2 separate regions of the Homo sapiens genome follow, and region 2 is linked to region 1. The links are contacts of gene promoters, found by promoter capture Hi-C in human tissues and cell types (Jung and others, 2019). All regions are on one chromosome and are shown on one strand. The core of a region is centred on a gene start or on the middle of the fragment in contact, and the rest is flanking DNA. Distances in the headings are between cores, read along the strand shown. Region 1 holds the start of RBM14 (RNA binding motif protein 14). Region 2 has its middle 6.2 kb from the start of NPAS4.

The links. Contacts are between HindIII fragments. The study calls those that stand out against the background at their distance.
Region 2: a fragment that was not itself captured here is called in contact with the fragment with the promoter of RBM14 in region 1 in 6 of the 25 tissues and cell types used here (adrenal gland, dorsolateral prefrontal cortex, liver and 3 more).

Annotation. Positions count from the first base shown.
Region 1 is chr11:66,614,446-66,618,372 of GRCh38, forward strand. RBM14 (RNA binding motif protein 14) reads left to right here and starts at 2,185. Exons shown (of 3, transcript NM_006328.4): 1 at 2,185-2,612. The coding sequence starts at 2,276. It overlaps RBM14-RBM4 (RBM14-RBM4 readthrough), which reads left to right and starts at 2,185. Exons shown (of 2, transcript NM_001198846.2): 1 at 2,185-2,612. The coding sequence starts at 2,276. It also overlaps the pseudogene RNU4-39P. RefSeq lists enhancers at 1,661-1,770, 2,135-3,068, 2,201-2,430. The HindIII fragment of the contact is 10,275 bases long and covers 1-3,927 here.
Region 2 is chr11:66,412,880-66,416,806 of GRCh38, forward strand. It overlaps a transcript of NPAS4 not described here. Among named protein-coding and RNA genes, the nearest start is that of NPAS4, 6.2 kb to the right of the region's middle. RefSeq lists enhancers at 687-1,205, 1,206-1,724. The HindIII fragment of the contact is 7,963 bases long and covers 1-3,927 here.

The DNA of each region.
Region 1 (3,927 bases), core at 935-3,434:
TTTCTTTCTTTCTTTCTTTTTTTTTTTTTTTTTGAGACGGAGTCTCGCTCTGTCGCCCAGCCTGGAGTGCAGTGGCGCGATCTCGGCTCACTGCAAGCTCCAACTCCCGGGTTCACGCCATTCTCCTGCCTCAGCCTCCCTAGTAGCTGGGACTACAGGCCCCCGCCACCATGCCCGGCTAATTTTTTGTATTTTAGTAGAGACGGGGTTTCACCGTGTTAGCCAGGATGGTCTCCATCTCCTGACCTCATGATCCGCCCGCCTCAGCCTCCCAAAGTGCTGGGATTACAGGCGTGAGCCACCTCGCCTGGCCCAAGCACATGCCATTTCAATGGCCTTGTGCTACACAACTCCCACCCTCCTATTCTGCTCTCTGTTCCAGGTTCTGGCCATATTGGGCTCTTTTTTTTTTTTTTTTTTGGAGACAGAGTCCTGCTCTGTTGGCCAGGATGGAGTGTGGTGGCGTGATCTCAGCCCACTGCAACCTCCACCTCCTGGGTTCAAGTGATTTTAATGCCTCAGCCTCCTGAGTAGCTGGGATTACAGGTGCCAGTCATCATGCATGGCTAATGTTTTGTTTTCAATTAGCAATAATTGCGCCTCGGATAAACCTCATTGGCTATGATACTGCCACTGCGCAAAGCTAATGTTTTGTAGTTTTAGTAGAGACAGGGTTTTACCATGTTGGTCAGACTGGTCTCGAACTCTTGACCTCAGGTGATCCGCCCGCCTCAGCCTCCCAAAGTGCTGGGATTACAGGCGTGAGCCACCGGGCCTGGCCCATACTGGCTCTTGACTCTTCCTTGAACCAGATTTGCTTCTGCCCCAGCACTCTTTGACTTGTACTTTCTGGCCGGCATGATCTTCCCTCAGAGGATGGCTTAGTTCCCTTGATTACTCCAAGTCCTCATCACCATCTAACACGCTTATGTTTTACTTATTTCTTGCCTGTTTCTCCCCACCATAAGATCCAAGAAGGTTGGGATTTCTGTCATTTTTTTTTGTTCACTGCTATATTCTTGGTGGTGTCCACATGGTAGGTGCTATTTGTTGACTGAACACGTAGGCAAATATTTCCCTGAGTTTGTCACATGTCTATGTTTTTGATGTTGTCTGCCATGCAACAATCTTATTTACATACTCAAATCTGTTTAAAAAAATTTTTGAGACGGAATCTCACTGTCGCCCATGCTGGAGTGCAGTGGCGTGATCTTGGCTCACTGCAACCTCCGCCTTCCGGGTTCAAGTGATTCTCCTGCCTCAGCCTCCCAAGTAGCTGGGATTACAGGCGCGCACCACCACACCCGGCTAATTTTGTATTTTTAGTAGAGACGGGGTTTCACCATTTTGGCCAGGCTGGTCCTGAACTCCTGACCTCCGGTGATCTGCTTGCCTTGGTCTCCCAAAGTGCTGGAATTACAGGCGTGAGCCACCGCTCCCGGACTAAAATTTTTTTTAAGGCTCAACTTTTGCTTCCTGCAGAATTAATTTTCTCGTTTATTAAACTGTTTATTATGAAAACCTTCAACATACAATAACGTCATTCCATTATTTCTTGACTGGGAATTCCATCAGGGCAGAGGCCTTTGATTTTTCACCGGCTGCCAGGACCTCAGCAACCCCAGGGAATGTTTCCAAAGAATCAATTAATGGCACGAGGGCTTCTCCGGGGCCTGCCTCAGGTCCCCTCGCGGTGCTCAGCACAGTCCTGGGAGCCGTTTGCCGACTCAAGGCGCCTGTCCTGGTTTCTCCCGCCAGGCCCGGCCTTCCCCCGTACACTCACGCGGCAACCCCCAGGCGCGGGTTTGGACAGGGCTTCCAGAATGGGAGGAGCCCTGACTTCCAATTGTACAAAGTTTTCCTGGGAGCCCGCCGGTCCCAGCCCCACCCGGGCCAGAGACCGCCTTACAGACTAGGCCTCTCTGCCGCCGGCGCCGCTCGCGCGCGTTCTCCTCTCTTCAGCCCTCCCTCTTCTTCCCAACCCCCTCTCCCGCCACGGGCTGTGGCGGTTGGTCGTCCCTTTCCCACCCCCTCAGCTAACGAGCGGGCTCTAGGCCCTCTGGGATTGGCTGTGCCTGAGCACATCTTCCCTCAGCGTTTCTGATTGGTCGCTGGACGCGCGGGATGCGAGTCCCCATTGGCTAGGCCAGGGCGCCTGCGCGGCGGGGTTCTCGGTCGCCAGCCATTCCTGAGGAGGACTGCCGGTCGTTCGGACGTCTTGCCTGTCGCTGGAGGAGAGGTCCGGGCTCTCCAGGAAGGTGGCTGCGGCGACAAAATGAAGATATTCGTGGGCAACGTCGACGGGGCGGATACGACTCCGGAGGAGCTGGCAGCCCTCTTTGCGCCCTACGGCACGGTCATGAGCTGCGCCGTCATGAAACAGTTCGCCTTCGTGCACATGCGCGAGAACGCGGGCGCGCTGCGCGCCATCGAAGCCCTGCACGGCCACGAGCTGCGGCCGGGGCGCGCGCTCGTGGTGGAGATGTCGCGCCCAAGGCCTCTTAATACTTGGAAGATTTTCGTGGGCAATGTGTCGGCTGCATGCACGAGCCAGGAACTGCGCAGCCTCTTCGAGCGCCGCGGACGCGTCATCGAGTGTGACGTGGTGAAAGGTAACGCGGAGGCGCGCTCGGGGGCGGGGGCGCGCTCGGGGCACTCTGCCTGTTAGCCACGCCCCTTACCCGGGGGTCGGTCACTGCGCGGTTGGGAGGGGTGGGGAAGTGCGCGGGAGCAGGTCGGAGGTGTTGGGGGCGCGTTGGGTAGAGCCACCCTCCTCCCCTGCGGTCCAGGAACCGTCCACCAAGTAGGAGGAAGCGGCTCTGGGTGGGTGCGGCGGCCACTGCGAGCCAAGCTACGGGGCCGGGGACGCGCCTGAGAGCCTTGCGAGTGTTCCGGGGGCGCGCCTTCTCCTGGTCTCCTGGGCCTGGCACCCAGCGGAAATTGGGAAGTGACGGGCACAAGCCGGATCATGAAGCGGGGAAGATTTCTCCACTTCCCCACTTCCTCTCCAGACGTCGGTCAGAGCAAGGGAAGAGGGAAAAGGTGGGGGCTGACGCCCCAAGGCCGCCCTCCTGTTCCCTCCCGATGAATGTGCTCAAGCGGAAGGTAACGGGGCCCTTGGACGTTTCTCGGGCTGGGGTCTTTTAGTCTTGTCTGGCATGGGTCTACTCATGGGCACAGTTACACGTGGGTACGAGAGGGGCCCCTTCCGAATCACTTTGGCCTTTCAATATTAGGTAGGTTAGGCGTGGCAGCTCTGTGCTTTTCTCCTCCCTCAAACTTGGGGTTTTTCTTTGGGCTCGATTTTACATCTGTCAACTGGAAACCCCAGCCTTTTGCATGTGCAAGAAAGCTTGTTTTATGAAGTCCCCTTCTGCGTAGTCTTTACATGCCAAGCCAGTGCCCTAGGGCAGTGTCATTCTTTTATAAGCTTGGTGACTTTGCAGGGGGGCATACTCTGGCTGAGGGGGTCCTGGGGAGGGGTCTGTGAGAGCTCTTCATTAAACAGTGGCTAAACACGGTTTACTGAATCAGTAGTAGTCATTGCTTGAGTAGTCTGATTCTCAGGGCAGATCCCGGTGCCTTTTCTTCGAGAAAAATGTGTCACCATAATTTAAGCCTGACTAGGGACCCAGTTGACTTTTTCATAGCTTGAGTTTTTATCCCTTAAGCTCTTTATCTTTTACATTGGCAAGATTTGGTGGGACAGCCGTTGTGTATGTGGCCAGTCTCTGCTCCACTTGGGAACAGATCAGAGTTAACTTTGCCCTGTCATTTTGGAAGATGCAGCCTGGGAGTATCTGATGCCCTACTCCTGGTGGGTTCATACCTGCTCATACCCTGTGTGAGAAGTTTCAGGGATAGGAAATAAATGTGGGTGCAAGTGCTTATTTATCCCACCAAGATATTTCATTTGCTGTCCTGGAA
Region 2 (3,927 bases), core at 605-3,104, 200 kb before region 1:
CCACTGCCTCTTGATGGTCCTTCAAACATCTGCAAATGCCACACCACCTCCTCAAGCCTCCTCTTCTCTGAGGAACATCTCTCCATTCCTTCCATCTTTTAAAAATTTCTTACAAATGTTTATGAAGCACTTTACGCTGGAGTTGACAGTGGGCAAAGCAGTCACAGTCCCTGCCATGGTGACCACAGTCTAGTGGACAAGAGACAATAAATTCCTCACCAAAATAAAGGATTAAATCGCTATTTCACCAAGTGCCAACAGAGGCCTGGGGTGCCTGCAAACCTGTAACTGAGGATTTGGCCTCAGCGGTAATGTCAGGGAAGGCTTTCCAGAGGAGACGATATTTAGGCTGAACTAACGGGAAATTAGGAAGAACTCGGCAGAGGAGAGAGGCAGCAGCACCCCAGGAGAGAGAACAGCATGTGCAAAAGCACTGTGGCGGCCGGGAGGGTGGCAGGCCAGGGACTGGAAGAAGGCTTATGCAGCTGGAAGAGAGGCAAGGGGGTGCATGAGGCCAGACAGGCTGGAGGGCTTACCAGAGGCAGGCCTGGGGGATGGCCTGGGCCCTGCCTCACAGCCCTGGGTGCAGTTGGCTCCTCCTCACTGGCTGCTCTGCTCAAGGCTAGGCTTGGACCCATAGCATAAGTCCTAGAGCCAAACCTCCTGGCCCTGACAGAGGCTGCCCTCTCTCCACTTTTGCTGCATGTCCCTGTTAACACAACCTCAGCTACAGTGGCTTCTTTTGTGGCTACCTGGCACTGTGTTGAATCTCATTTATGAGGCCACACTCCTCTGTCCACCCAGCCACCCACCCAGCACAGCCTGGCCCAGTCAACACTGACTTGCCACCAGCAGCTCAACTCAAATGCACCTGCTTGGGGAGGCCGGTGCCAACTCCTCAGGCAGGGTCACCCCTCCTTTTGCTCTCCCCAAACTCCCAGCATGCCTCCTTGACAGCAGTATCCCACTGAAGTGGCTGGATGGACCCCTTGCTCTCTCACCAGCCTGCAGGTTCCATGAGGCCAAGACCAGCTGTCTGTGGGCACCATCACATCACTGCAGAGGCTGGCACAAACTCTGCCCTCAGCTGTTTGTTGCATGAATGACTTACATGCCTGAGCCCCTGCCCTGTGCCAGGCCTTGTGCTGGATGCTGGGAACATGAAGACCAGTTGTAGATGCTGGTAGGGGAGACAGCCAAGTAAACACACAGGGACAATGCAGGGTGCAGAGTGCGGTGACGAGGAAGCACAGGGGCTGGGGGGCACTGAGGGGGTCCCCGGACCTCACTGGAGGACCAGAAGGGCCAGAATTTGCCAGCTGGGAGTGGTGGTGGAGAGGACTCTGAAAATGAATGTGAGGAAAATCCGCCTCCTCCAGCCTCCCCAGGGCAGGTCAAGAGTATTGGTCGCTGCTCTGCATTTGAAAAGTGGCTTTAGTTGATTAGGTTTCTTTCCCCTCTTGGAATGTGGCTGCTCTGACTTGCTCCTCACTGCATTCCTTGCATCCTCTTCTCTCAGCCCTGCCTTCAGGACATTGCCCACAAAAGTTTCATCTTTTCCCACCTGGGCTCTACTCTCCCTCTCCCACCCCCTCCATGGTTCTATGTCCCTCACCTTCCTGGCTTTCAGCTCATTCACCCAGCTCTGGCCGTCTCAATGCGTGGGTGCCAGCCTGCACCCTCTTTACATGAGCTTTGTTGATTTCATAACCATAAATAGATAAAATGTTCTGAATGCTTTCATGTGCAAGTAGAATTGAGGGAGTGATAGCATAATGAAAAGGCCTCAGGAAAAGGAAAACAGCTTGCTAAGATGCAGCGGAAGACAACACGGTCACTGCACAAGCCAGCTCTGCGTGGGTTTCCTATTCTCACTGCACTGACCGCGGAGCCATGGACGCAGGATGGGGAGGTGCTTAGGAATCTGTTAGAAAACCTTTCCCTGGTTTCAAATCCACCAATTCAAAAGAACAACCTAGAAAAAAAACAGTAGAAGTCAGGAAAACCTGGGTTCAATTGTGGATTTATCTCATTCTAGCTGTGTGATCCTAGGCAAGTTAATCAACCTCTCTGAGAAGGCATAGAGAGATTCTTCCCCCCTGGGTCAGACTGGAGGCTTCGGGAGGCCCAATATCCCACAATACCTTCCTTTTCCTCCCATATGTAAATTTTGTCTTCCTGACAATTCGTTAATCACCAGCCCTGAGACCCCCCTGCCCAAAATGCAGTCCTGAAGACTAGGGTCGGAATAGGGATGGAATGGGGTACCCTGCCTCCTCATTGCCTGTTCCAACTCCTGGTGCAGGAAGTGGAGCATCATCCTGCATGGGGAGGGTACATCTCCACAGCCACAAAAGGGGCTGGAAACCAATAAGGAGCCTGACCCATTGGGCTTCCCACCTCTCCTCCTTTAAGTTGTCCAGGAGCACTACTTCTCCATGGCCTTTGGAACAGTAAAGGGGGCTGAAATGATAGCTTGGTATACCCTGGGTTAAGAGAGCTTTCTGGGTGAGAAAGAGAAACAAGTGGAGATATTCCTGGTGTGAACTCATCCTCTGGTCTAAGGATGGCACGCTTTTTCTCTAAAGGATCAATTAGTAAAAAGTGTCAAAAAGTTCTTTAGGCTTTTTGAACCATATGGTCTCTGTTGCAACTACTCAGCTCTTCCATTGTAATGTGAAAACAGCCATAGACAATGAGTAAATGAATGAATGTGACTGTGTTCCAATAAAACTTTATTTACAAAAGGAGGCAGCAGGCTAGATGTGGCTAGATTTGCAGTCCATAGTTTGTAAACCCTAGCCCTATCACGTGGTGCAAAAGAGAAAGCTTGGGTTGGGAGCAGGAACTAGGGGTGAGGCTCAGCATTGCCAGACTTGCTGTGTGACTTTGATTAAGTCATTATCTATCTCTGAGCCTTTGTTTCACCATCTATCAAATGAGCATCATAATATCAGTCAAGGCTGGGTGTCGTGGCTCACACGTGTAATTCCAGCACTTTGGGAGGCCAAGGTGGGAGGATTGCTTGAGGTCAGGAGTTCAAGACCAGCCTGGGCAGAAAAAATTTTTTTAAATTATCTGGGTGTAGTAGTTTATGCCTGTAGTCCCAGCTACTCGAGATCCTGACACAGAAGATCATTTCAGCCCAGGAGTTTGAGGTGGCAGTGAGCTATGATCAGGCCACTGCACTCTAGTCTAGATGACAGAGCAAGACTGTATATAAATAACAATAATGATATCAGCCAGATTTGTCGTGAGAATGTGTCTAACAGGCCAGAGCAAATCTGAAGTCTTTTTGTCCCTCTGCTTCATAACGTTAAGTGGATTTGCACCCACTGCCCATGCCAACCTCAGCTGGCCATGCCCTTGCCTGCTGAGGGTAGCAGCAGCCTGCCAGAAAGGAAGGTGTCTCTCTCCAGGGTCAGATTCTTCATCTGTCTTTCCAAGCTCGAGCCCCAAGTGACCCCATTTCTGTAGCAAGCCAAGCACGGGAGGAAACAAGGAATCCCTTTCTTTCCACCATCCAGTCATTTGGCAACAAGCTACAGTTCACTTGAGAGAGTGATATGGCTGCAGTGGCTGGTGGCCAGGCTTTGGAGGAGGCCTTGGAGACTCAGGCTGGGAATAGAACTATGAAAAATGGGCTTCAGTGCTCCTCTGGAACATTAACCTATGGCCATAAGTTAAGTAGTTGCAGCTGTGGTCTCATTGGTAACTTGCAGCACCACCAATTGCATCAATGCATCTTTCTTGGACCATCTTGCCCACCTGTCTGGTCTGACCACTACTGCAAGCTTGCATCCTTTGGCATATTGTCATTTTCTCTGAAGCCCCATTCAGTGATTCATTCATTCATATTCTTTCTGTCTCTCCCCACTTCCCTTCCCTTCCTCCCCCTTTCTCTTTCTCATAGACACATTTGTCCAG